Regions from separate parts of the Homo sapiens genome. Here region 1 is linked to region 2. The links are contacts of gene promoters, found by promoter capture Hi-C in human tissues and cell types (Jung and others, 2019). All regions are on one chromosome and are shown on one strand. The core of a region is centred on a gene start or on the middle of the fragment in contact, and the rest is flanking DNA. Distances in the headings are between cores, read along the strand shown. Region 1 overlaps VPS50 (VPS50 subunit of EARP/GARPII complex). Region 2 holds the start of COL1A2 (collagen type I alpha 2 chain).

Region 1 (6,484 bases), core at 3,247-5,746, 1.1 Mb before region 2:
TATTCATAAGGATTTTTTTTTCCTTTTTAAAAATAACATTACTTTGGCAGGCTGATGGGTTTTCCTGGGGAGCTTATTTCAAGATGCTAATTAGGATGTTATTGATTAATTTTAGGACAATGGAGTTGGCTAGGCTGCCTGAAGTTTTCTCAACTATTTTTAAAATTGTTCATTTCCAAATCATCTTAATGAGCTTTGAGTTCTGTTTTTATGATGAATTTCATAATGTAGTAAAAATATATGCTATGTAAAAATATACTCTCTCTGTATATATATATATACATACATACATACACACTCATATATTATTTGGGGGAAAATAAAATGTTTCTGTTAGAAAAAACTTTTGAAATTATTTCATTATGTGTTTTCATAGTGTCTGGCACATTGGAGGTGTTTCCTTAGTAATTGGATTGCCATATTTGTCTCCAACTGGTGTGGTGTTGACACAATTAGAGTCTGTTTAGGTTAAGTGAGAGGGAAAGAAAACCAACACTGAGCACCTTCTCTGAGCCATGTACTTTTACAGGTGCTTTATATTAGTACATCATAGACAAACTATAATATTAATCTAATGTCCCATTCTTATAGGCTTTTAAAGTTTCATTCTTAAAAACAGTATTTTTTGATACTGAATTATAATCATGTCGATTTTTTGGGAGTCAACCAATATCTTTAGTAAAGTCCCTGTAGAAAATAACAGTTTATTTTGTTATTAGTATAAAACCCCAAAGACAGATTCTTCTTTTGAGTGAAAACATGTTTCTGTTCCTAAATCCTCAGGATTTTTGTTTAGAATTAATATTTTCTCTCATCAGATACTGTGAGAGTGTATTGACTCTCTTTACTATGGATAATAAGCTGCAGGAAATTAATGCTAAAGTTAATGTTCATGTTTAGTACCCATTTTGTTTTGGGTTCTCTATAGAATTAACTGCTGCCTCCTTACCCTTTTTCTGTTTTCCGACTTCTTAAACTGGTATGTTATTTATATGTCTTTATGTTACTCACAGTCTTTATAGGGCTAGACATAATATAAGTTATATAAATAGTGGCTCAAATTAAGCAATCATTAATATACATTCTCTTAAAAATATGCATATTTTAAATTATACAACTAAAACATTAATTGTAGGAAAAGACACAAGCAAAAAGAAGAAAGTAAAAATTGCATATGTCTGCATGCAAAGCTGGTTCTTTTAATGTGTATATAAGCTGATAGCTTTTAAAAGTAGCTGCACAAACTGTTTTATAACTTTTTTGCCACTTGCTACATTATAAACAATTTTTCCGGCTGGGCGCGGTGGCTCACGCCTGTAATCCCAGCACTTTGGGAGGCTGAGGCGGGTGGATCACGAGGTCAGGAGATCGAGACCATCCTGGCTAACACGGTGAAACCCTGTCTCTACTAAAAATACAAAAAATTAGCCGGGCGTGGTGGCGGGCGCTTGTAGTCCCAGCTACTCGGGAGGCTGAGGCAGGAGAATGACATGAACCCTGGAGGCGGAGCTTGCCGTGAGCTGAGATTGCGCCACTGCACTCCAGCCTGGGGGACAGAGCCAGACTCCGTCTCAAAAAAAAAAAAACAAAAAACAATTTTTCTATTTCAGTAAATATGCTACTTGCATAATTTTTAATGACCAAACGGTATTTCACTGTAAGTGATGCTGTGGATTAATTAACTGCTTTCCTGTTCTTGGATATTTATGTTATTTCCAGCTTTTGTCATTATGAACAGCACTGTAGTAAATATTCTTAAAGCTAAATCTTTGTGTACATCTTTATTTCTTTAGGATAAATCACGAGAAATGAAATTGCATTGTCTGTCAAAGCTTTACATTTTAAAGGCTTTTGGTTTGTCTTTCCTAAATTGCCCTATAAAAAATGGTATTTCAATTTACACTCCTGATCAGCAGAGTCTGCATTTATCCCTTTCCCTGAGCACATGAATGCTGATTATCTTTTATTTAATACCATAATTATCAGATGCCAGAGGTAGCATATCAAAAATAATTTGTGTTGCATATCAATCAGTCATGTTTGGGATGGTAAGGAGGTTAAACGACGTTTCATTGATTGTTGAGGTTAATTTGCTTGATGTGGTTGAATAGGTGAGTAGACCTTTCTTGCTGAATGCTACAAATTTGAATATTTGGTTGAAGAGAGAAACCTTTTCACTTCAAAGAATATTATCATTTACTTGGTTTGCTCAGGTCAGTTTCAGAATGAACTAAGAATTCAGCTGTCAGATTTATTCTTATCACATATATGGAGTGCCTAGCTAATTTTGTAGTATATAATTTTATGTAATGATTTCTAAATTAAGTAGGTTTTGATAATTTTTAAAATTAAAACTTAATGACCAAAAGGTAGGTAAGGAAAGTTTATTTGTTTCTTCCTTTTTTTTCTTGCCATTTTCTCTCTGGATCATCAAAAATTGTGAGGAGTCTGAAATTTTATTCTACTTGCAAATTAATAAGCTAGCCTGTTACTATTTCCTGGATGCTGGTAGAAGACACAGACTTCATATTCTTAGCACTATAACTTGTTAAGTGTAAACCAGTTCACTTGTCATTACTGAGCTTTTTTCTTTTTCTTTTCTTTTTTTTTTTTTTGAGGCGGAGTCTCCCTCTGTTGCCTGGGCTGGAGTTCAATGGCGTGATCTTGGCTCGTTGCAACCTCCACCTCCCGCGTTCAACAGGTTCAAGTGATCCTCCTGCCTCAGCTTCCCAAGTAGTTGGGATTACAGCTCCCACCACCACACCCGGCTAATTTTTGTATTTTGATTAGAGACGAGGTTTCACCATGTTGGTCAGGCTGGTCTCGAAATCCTGACTTCAGGTGATCCACCTGCCTTGGCTTCCCAAAGTGCTGGGATTATAGGTGTGAGCCACCGCGCCTGGCCTACTGAGCTTTTCTTACTCAGTCGTCAGTTTTCTTACTCAGTCATCAGTTCAGATCAGCAAGGACAAATAAGACTTTAAAGTAATAATCTAGTTAAGGTCACATTAATTATGATCAGAGGTAGAATAAGAAAAGGTCAAATGGCATAAAGTATCCAAGGAGTCAAAATATCTCTTTAAGGTTTGCAAGGGAGGAAAAAGTTGGGTCTTAGATTTCAACAGGCACAACAGGAACAGTGTGTGTCCAGGAATGGAAAGGAAATATCATGAGCAATGCCATGAGAGTAGGAAAGCACAGGGCAGGTGAAAGGAATAGTAGATTGTCTGGCTTGGTTTAACCGGATTTTTTAGTATGGTGGTTTGGTTGTTTCTAATGCACCCAGGGAATAATGAGTGCCTATGGAGCACATGCTTTGGGTAACCATTTATCTGAGTAACTAGTGTTAACTGTCTTGGCTGGAAGTGGAGGGGTGTTCCAGGTCTGGCAAGGCCTCTATATTGTTCATGTCTAAGAACTCTTAACATTATCAATGTAATTTAGACTGCTGGATGATTTTTTTAGGGAGGGGGATTGGATTGGAGATAAAAAAGAGCCAACCTATCTTTATATGGTGGCACACAGCTTCCAGCAGAAAGAAAAAATAATTTACTAGTGGGAAACCGTTTTTGGGCCACCTTGCCCAACAGGAAACCATTTTTGAAACCTCCCAAACACCTGATTATTTGATAGTGTTTTTATATTTAAATACTGCCTTTTTTTGTGTGATCTCAGGCAGCGTGAGGGTTAATAGCATCTTATAACTTGAAACTTTGAAAGATAATTATATATTCTGATTATACATACTTTGCTTGTTTTCTAATATTGAGCTGTCTATTTGATTAAGGCCATTTAACAGCAATTAGAATAACCTGCCAACTAAAGAAGAACTTTTTATTTCACAATTTAACGGGTGCTAGTTACTTAATTCCAAGTTGGGATTATTTATATCATACATATTACATGTCTTATGTGTATATACATATTTAGCATTAATGATAAAATGCCGTAGATGAGAATGAGTGTTTTTCTCCCCGATTATATTTGTTTTTAAATCATGAATGAATCCAGTGAGTTGCAAGGAAAGTTTTGCTAAAAGCATATGCATATTTTTGTCTATGGAGACTCATAGCTTTTAAAGCTTCAGAGGGACTCTAGGAGATTTGCTTTAACCCTTGGGGTTTAGATACATGAATTGCTATGCAGGAGTCATGATCAAGTAAGTGACAAAGTTGGGCTCCAAGCCCAAACATGTTTCATCTAGTTCAGTGCTCTTTCCACTATGCAGTACTACCTCTCTGGTTTCCAATGGCTGGAAACTTCTTAAGATAATCATATTTCATACAGCTAGGCCCTCACAGAAGTAATTAGATATTGGAGTAATTAAATATTAGATACTGGCTCAGACACTTCCATAGGTCCAGAGTTACCCCCAAAGATGTTTTCAACTCCCTGGGCCTGGTGCTGTTTTGACCAGCAGCATATTTTCAGAAGCCACTCAGATAAGCAGGATTCTCCCCAGCAGCTTCTGATGATGTGAGCTCATAGTACTAACAGCATTCATCTAAAGATACTGATAACCAACCCTTTGTTGTTTTTTGAAATCCATCTATCACTGTGTGTGTGTTTTGGGGGGTGGAGGCACTGGGAATTTTGGATCTCTGTGAGGATGCCAAAACATCTGTTCCCTTTATGTTTGTTAGGATGTGATTAGAGTGCTAAATCAAAACGTGGAATAAGAACAAAATAATTCATTACAACCATCCCTAAGACTTTTCATTTTGATGCTCTAATATAAAAAGCATTACTTTGAAATTTTTGTAGGGATTTAGTAATAGAGATTTCTTATAAGTATTAAAGTAAATTATAGAATAAAAAGCAAAAGACTAGCAGCTTTTCCTCCCGTATTTACTACTTTACTTTGCATTTAAATAACTTTCAGAAGATGACATTCTTTTATTGTGTGCTTCAAACTTATAAAGGCTGCTTATATTAATTTCTGGATTTACACTGTTCTTTGAAAATGGCCTCAACTTATATTTTATAATCAAGACTGAGATGTTGCTGGTTTTGATAAGCTAGTTTCATCATTTTTATTTTAACCAGGTAGGTTGGCTGAGGTGGTTAATAGAAGAAATGGAAGGTGCCAAGTGTTACTGTGAACTGACAGTGATAAGAGATGGGAAATCAGATTTGTGGATTTTGTGAAAGTGTTAATCAAAATTGGATTAAGGAATGAATTGTGGCGTTGGAATGTGAAGCATAGTGGAAATGCTGTGAGCTTCTTGCATGGAACATCCAGTTTCTTCATCTTCTCCAAATCCTTCCTCCTAGGATATTTGTTTACCTTTTATGATCGCCAAATTTATTAGACATGTATGTTGTCTCTGTTATAGAGTTTATGGATTTTTTTTAAATTAGGATGGTTAAAATTTCCTTTTTTTTCTGTGCATTTCTTGGGATATTTCCCAAAGATTATATGCCTATTTTATCTTTTCCCCTCACTTTACAGTCTTTGCTAAATAAATTGAAGCTAATAGCTTTAAGTGGAAGAGTAGCAGTGGAAAATAGTTTTAGAACACAGGGAAATATTTGGTAATTAAATTTCGATTTCTTATCTATTCTTAAAAAAATTTCAAGATATGTTATTTAGCTCTTGGGGATGTCTTACTATGTGAATATTTTGTAAATTGATTCAATCAATACTTTCATTGCTATTTTCCATATGTGATGTGAACATAGAACTGGGATTATAATATGGTGCTCCTCTGCTATGATATTCCTAGTATTATGCCAAATGAGTCTCCCCTTCACCTGAACTGAGTTTCAATGTTAGGTATTTAGTAATAAATGAATGACTTCAACCAGTGATGAAATAGGAAGATACAAGTATCTCTAACACGTTTATGAAAGGTGAAGCTGAGAACCAGAGTGGTTTATTATCTAAGGCATGCGACTGTAAGTTTGTGGAACTAGTGCCAGCTGGAATCCAGGGATTCCAATTCTTAATTTAGGTCTCTTTCCATTATGCTCTGCAGATGTGAAGAATTGATGCTTGGGTGGAACACTCAGGTTCCTCTTATTAGCCTGCCTTTTATTTTTTGATTACCTGTGTAATTATTTGCTTATTCTCTGGCTTCATTGAATCTCTCTGGTTATGATTCATTCATGTCTTTGTAATAAAATTCTCGATTTGAAATTTGGAGGTCATTTTTATAAAGTAGAAAATACTAGTTGCAAATAATTTTAGTTAAATGATGTTAAAAGCATGAGAAGCATTTGTCACTGTGACAATTGACACCAGTTGGTTGCATGGCATAATGGAAAGGGGCTCAATTTTAAAATGAAATAACTCTTTTAACTTATTGCCAGTATAACCTTCAGAGATTAACATAGCTGGGCTTAAATTTGTTGAAAACGTTGTTTTTTTTTTTTTTTTAAAAAAAAAACTACCCCACCTTGCCTTTTTTCCTTAAACTATTTATTGTATATGTATTTAATAAAATGGTCTTTACGTTTGTTCCTTTTTTAGAATATGAACTTA
Region 2 (6,384 bases), core at 307-2,806:
AGACAGAACTGACCTAAAGATGCCCCCTTTGCGATGACTTCTGGGATAGAGCAGCACTCTAACTAGGCCCCCGCTGCCTCATGGGGACCTTAGGCAAGTAGAGGAGAGGCCTGACACACACACACACACACACACACACACGCACACGCGCGCGCGCGCACACACACACACACAGCCTTTCAAACCTAGGGCCTGGAATGCCATCCCAAGAGGCTTTAGAAAAAGGCACAGGACCTTTGGCCTCCCACCTCAGGGTCAAAGTACCAGTTCCTCCTCTCCCTAGTAGGGAGTGGAGGGTTGGATGGAGGCGGCCAGAGAAGAGGGAAGTTGGGTGCTGGGGAGAGAGTTAACATCCACGTTGGTGGGCGCACTGCTTGGGGTGTTACCAGCGAAGACTACGAAGACCCCAAGCTCGAATCAGAAGGGCCTCTGGATGTGCTAGGGGAGGTGCTTGGGTGTGGCTGTAAGAGATGGGACAGAGAGTAAGCAGCAAGGTCAAGAGGGACCGGGGGGCTCACGGGAGGGTTGAAGGGTCCAGGCTCAGGGTAGAACTGGTAAATCCAGACAAGGAGCCCATGGAGAAGGGGAGGGGAGACTGGAAACCATGAAAGATCCCCCACCGCAGCCTCAGAAAGGAGAGACTGAGAAATAAGTTCTCGGTCTCCAGGTCGGTTGGAGTCGTGTCGGAGTGCCAGACCATCCCCCAAAAGACCCTCTTTGGAATGAGCCTCAGCAAAGGCAAGCTAGGAGGTCGAAGGACTTCCCCAGGTGACTCGGTCTAGTCTAGAGTTCGCAAAGCCTATCCTCCCTGTAGCCGGGTGCCAAGCAGCCTCGAGCCTGCTCCCCAGCCCACCTGCCAACAAAAGGCGCCCTCCGACTGCAACCCAGCCCTCCACAGACAGGACCCGCCCTTTCCCGAAGTCATAAGACAAAGAGAGTGCATCACTGCTGAAACAGTGGGCGCACACGAGCCCCAAAGCTAGAGAAAAGCTGGACGGGGCTGGGGGCGGGGTGCAGGGGTGGAGGGGCGGGGAGGCGGGCTCCGGCTGCGCCACGCTATCGAGTCTTCCCTCCCTCCTTCTCTGCCCCCTCCGCTCCCGCTGGAGCCCTCCACCCTACAAGTGGCCTACAGGGCACAGGTGAGGCGGGACTGGACAGCTCCTGCTTTGATCGCCGGAGATCTGCAAATTCTGCCCATGTCGGGGCTGCAGAGCACTCCGACGTGTCCCATAGTGTTTCCAAACTTGGAAAGGGCGGGGGAGGGCGGGAGGATGCGGAGGGCGGAGGTATGCAGACAACGAGTCAGAGTTTCCCCTTGAAAGCCTCAAAAGTGTCCACGTCCTCAAAAAGAATGGAACCAATTTAAGAAGCCAGCCCCGTGGCCACGTCCCTTCCCCCATTCGCTCCCTCCTCTGCGCCCCCGCAGGCTCCTCCCAGCTGTGGCTGCCCGGGCCCCCAGCCCCAGCCCTCCCATTGGTGGAGGCCCTTTTGGAGGCACCCTAGGGCCAGGGAAACTTTTGCCGTATAAATAGGGCAGATCCGGGCTTTATTATTTTAGCACCACGGCAGCAGGAGGTTTCGGCTAAGTTGGAGGTACTGGCCACGACTGCATGCCCGCGCCCGCCAGGTGATACCTCCGCCGGTGACCCAGGGGCTCTGCGACACAAGGAGTCTGCATGTCTAAGTGCTAGACATGCTCAGCTTTGTGGATACGCGGACTTTGTTGCTGCTTGCAGTAACCTTATGCCTAGCAACATGCCAATGTAAGTGCCTTCAGCTTGTTTGGGGGAGACTGGGTAGAGAGGTTAGATGGGAGGGCACCCTGCCCTGAAAAGGAAAACCTGTAACCTGAATTCCAGGTACACTTGGAGGGCAGACTCTCAGGCATGTGGGAAAACGCCGGAATTGATAAGAAACATGGAAATTACTTTAAAAAATGAAAACATAAAAGCCTTGCCAAAAGTTAGGGAACTTTTCCTCTAAGTTCAGAGTGAGACAGTTAACTCGGTCTGGCTCCTCAGCTTAGTAACCCCCAAAGGGAGCGGAAGGTCTTTTTCCCTAAGGATGAGATATTAACGACCAATGTGGTGGAGGAAGTCAAGGGCCTGCACCCCACAGGCCCCATAACCGCACTGATGTCCACCTTGTAAAACTTGAGGCCTGCGTTAGAAAGCCCTTCAACTGAGTAATGTAAAACTCACCTCCTAAGAGCTTTTATCTTCTGGGCATTGTAAGGCTTGTCCGGAGGAGGAGGATGACGATGCTGATATGATGATGGTTATAAGGCGCCCTCTGGAGGAAGGAAAATGAAAGTACAGGGGACAGGGCCTTAAGCAGATGGAATCCCAATTAAAGCTTCTACGGATTTATACAGATTAATGATCAGCATTTCTGGTTGGAGCCTTTCCCAGTGGCTAGTCAGTGAACCCTGGAAAGAAGAATGGATGCTACTTGGAGTGGGTACATTCTGAAAAGTAATATAAGTGTCTCAATTCACTTTCTAGTCATGGAAATGGTAACATTTTTTAACTCAAATCTGCTCTAAATTTTGTTTGAGCCTGAGAATTACCCCTTTGACATGTTCCCAGTGATAAGCAAACATTATGAACGCAGCAAGTTGAGAAATATCAACATTGAGATGAGACTCAAGAGACCGGGGTTTTTCCCATGAGTCTGACACCAATTTGCTGCGTGACTTTGGGCAAGTCAAACGGCCTTTTCTAAAATGTGAGACAGAGATTAAAGGGACCCCAAGGCCACTTTCCAGCTCTAGGTTCCATGGCCAGACTTTCATGTCAACAGAGAATGAAGAAGATCAGTCCGTTTTCATCTTGAAAATGGCTGCCAAAGTGCTAGACAAAGATATTGACTAGATGGGGGATGGTATTGTCTGACCACACCCAGTACTCCAAAAAGTTGTTCCACCCACACAGCACGGTGTCTACCACTGCATAATTTCTAATGCATTTGTGTGCTTGTGTGTGTGTGTGTGTGTGTGTGTGTGTCTGTGTGTCTGTGTGTCTCTTCCCCCTTCATTCACTTTTAGTATACATACTGTGGATACTAAGGAGTAATTGCAGTGAACAAATTCACATTACCGAGTTCATATTTTTAATGAGATCTTGAGAGTGGGAGGAAAGAGTCGGCTCCTAGAGAATAAAATGAAGGCAGACTTAGGGAAATTTGAAGGTACAAAGGCAACTTACCTTCTGATCAACAGCCAACCACAGTCTGGAATAAATGTTATCAAACACACATTCTTCAAAATGGTCCATGTCTGAGTAATTAAAAGGCAAATTTCCAAAATCATAAGGACTTCCGTTAATCAAGTCAGGCATAATTATTCTTCCTACTGATGGACACAATGAAGTAAACATATCATTCTTGTAATTTAACAGTAATTCTCGTAAATTGCCCTTAAATGTCAGTGCTGGATGTGGTCCACCCTCCTAAATTGTGACTGTTGCAACAGATGTTCTCACTTCAAATAACGCACTTCTTGGCCACCTAATTAAAGCAATTTTTGGGGTGATTCATCCTACTGCAAGCTTGGCCACACTTGTATCCTGTATTAACCTATAATTTTTGTACCGTAGGAGAAGAATTCACTCTTTAAGGACTTATAACAATTATGGCAAAAGGGGGGATAGTACTTTTGTTTATTTTTTCTATTATTTTTCAAGATCTTTAATCCGGTTTTTCCATTTATACAAAACTCTTTCTCCGAGACAAAAATGATACATATTGGTAAAATGATCTTACCTAATTTAAGTGAACTAATTTAAAGCAAAATTCAGATGTCTGAATTAATCCATTTTCATAGTTAATAATGTGCAAATTAGACCTTTTGAAAAAGGATATTAAGAATGGTACAAACTCAATGAAGTACTAGGTAACTTCAATGTTTTATAAAAAAGTAAGTCAGCTTCAATGTTTCATAAAAAACAAATTCAATATAGAATTTTAAGGTAACATACTTTCCTAAATTTTACCTTTTTTCGATATTTAGGTATTAAAAATGATCAAAATCATAAATTATTTCCTCATCAATCTACTAGTCTTACATTCAGCGATTCATCTGTGCACTTTACCAGCTTAATTGCTAAGCATTCAAAATATCCTTCAGACACATTAATATTTCACAACAGTTATAAAATAGTAAATAATTAATAATTTAATTCAAAATACATTTACATATTAATATTGCAAACAAATCACCCTGCTGATCCCTGCCATACTTTTGACCTGCATAATTTCTAGGTCATTAAAATATTCTTAAAAAAATATAATTGGTCCTTAATTAGGTAATTCAATTCTATAAACTTGTTTCTCTATTTGTTAATTATTGCTATTGATCCATGAAGTGATACTAATAATTGTTTCCTACTTTTTCTTTTTTTTTTCTACAGCTTTACAAGAGGTGAGTAAAACTTTTTTTAGAATTTTTAAAAATACTTTGATTCCCTTGGCTACAGTGATGTCTTCTCTTGGAAGGGAAGAAGTTACATTAATATTGACCATCCTAGATTCCCAAGAAAATTGTGAAGAATTATGATAGTCAAAACCTTTCTGGCTGCCTTAGAAAGTACCCACCCAATTTTCCAAAATAGGCGGGGCTACTGAATAAGACTAGGTTTATAAAATATTCATAAGAAATATAGAGTAAATAATCCAATAGAAGTTTGAGTTTTAGGATCAGCTTCTATGAAGCAGAAGATTTCACTGAGCTAGAGAATCTTTTCACTCCTTTGGAATTATTTGCAAAAGCACTTATTGTTAACACATTCTTAGCTCATGAGTTGAATTTGAGGCATAAGTACAGGTACGTATTGCTATGTATTTTTTGTTCTGTAGGTACATATTTTTATTTGACATGTTGGTAAAATTTTAAATTGTAGTTTGAAATATTAAACTGAGATAATAGTAAATGCATAATGTAATGAATTGTGAAGGTATATTTGTATACTACACCAAAATGGAAGCTGTTTTTAAATATATATATACAATTTTCTTCATAATAATCTTTGATTTATTCTTTTCTAGGAAACTGTAAGAAAGGTAAGAGTACACTACTTCTCCATAAATATCTAAAATTATCAGGGATAACATAATTTAACTAAATTTATAGTAGACTATAGAAGGAAAATACTTTATCAAAATTTTGTTCATATGAATATACATTAGCTAAAGCATAAAATAAAGTAGCTTTGATGTTTAAGATAACAAAGTTTAATTATCTTCTGGAATCATCTGTAATTACATTTATGTGATACAAACTGGTGATTTACATACAAAAGGAAAAAAAAAGACTTGTTTTTATTCTGGAGATGGAAGGCATATTATGTTAATTATAGGGAGTAAAAAAAGTTTATTTTAAAGGGCTTTGACTATATAAATGTGCTGTTAAAAATGTAACAAAATGATCATTTAATCTACAGTTATCATCTTATTCAAAATGCTATGCATAGTATTGACCTAATAGCTGAAGACTATAGCAGCTTCCAATCCTCCAGCTGAAAAAAAATTACGTATAATTACAATTAAAATATATACTTTTATCTATTGCATTGTGTCAATTTTTTATATGCTATCTAATAACATTGTAGTTACATCAGTCTTACCAACTAATTATTATCAAGAATGATTTGTTTGTTCACTGGAAATTACTTCTTAGGCATTTATTATTGTCCTGTTTGTATCTTTCCTGTAGGGCCCAGCCGGAGATAGAGGACCACGTGGAGAAAGGGTGTGTAATTTTTGAACTATAAAGGGCTTCGTCCCGTATTTGAATAACTATATGTTAGAAACTACAGGAACTGGCAATTTATAAGAATATTATGTATCCAGATAATTGTACACCCCTTTAAACAGGTAATGCACTGCAGAAGAAGCGAATGAGCATTATTATATATGATCAATATTTGTTTTAGGTCAAAATTACCGTTAAAAAAGAAAAACTGTTACAGTCATATTCTTTGCATGGTCTACTTTCTTTATTTGTAATTGACCCATCCAACACATGCATAATGGAAATATATCTACCTACCACCACAGTCCTCTTTTTAACACATTTCATTTGCTTTTGAACTAAGATCCCTTAGGTAGCTTGGAAATAATAGTGAATTAGTAGTCAGTAACATGTTTCTCTGCTCAAATTCATGCATGTACAAGTCAGGCTTACATTTTATTTGTGGCATTCTTAAATCTCCCTGCTATGCTTATTTGACATTTATAACTATGTGGTTTTGCATTGTATAACACTTTTGCCAATATATGAATACCTATATCTTATATCTATTAGGAAGAGGAGACTTACATGTATTTCACTCAATTTATTAGAAATAGAATTAAATCAGTTAATTATTTTAACAATACAAGTAGTTA

The links. The method cuts DNA at HindIII sites, captures the fragments that hold promoters and counts their contacts. A contact is called where the count stands out against the background at its distance.
Region 1: a contact is called between a fragment that was not itself captured here and the fragment with the promoter of COL1A2 in region 2, in 1 of the 25 tissues and cell types used here (dorsolateral prefrontal cortex).

Annotation. Positions count from the first base shown.
Region 1 is chr7:93,280,631-93,287,114 of GRCh38, forward strand. All of the region lies in intron 12 of VPS50 (VPS50 subunit of EARP/GARPII complex), which reads left to right. Among named protein-coding and RNA genes, the nearest start is that of VPS50, 52 kb to the left of the region's middle. The HindIII fragment of the contact is 7,220 bases long and covers 887-6,484 here.
Region 2 is chr7:94,393,339-94,399,722 of GRCh38, forward strand. It overlaps COL1A2 (collagen type I alpha 2 chain), which reads left to right and starts at 1,557. Exons shown (of 52, transcript NM_000089.4): 1 at 1,557-1,763; 2 at 4,410-4,420; 3 at 5,044-5,058; 4 at 5,711-5,746. The coding sequence starts at 1,694. The HindIII fragment of the contact is 19,147 bases long and covers 1-2,951 here.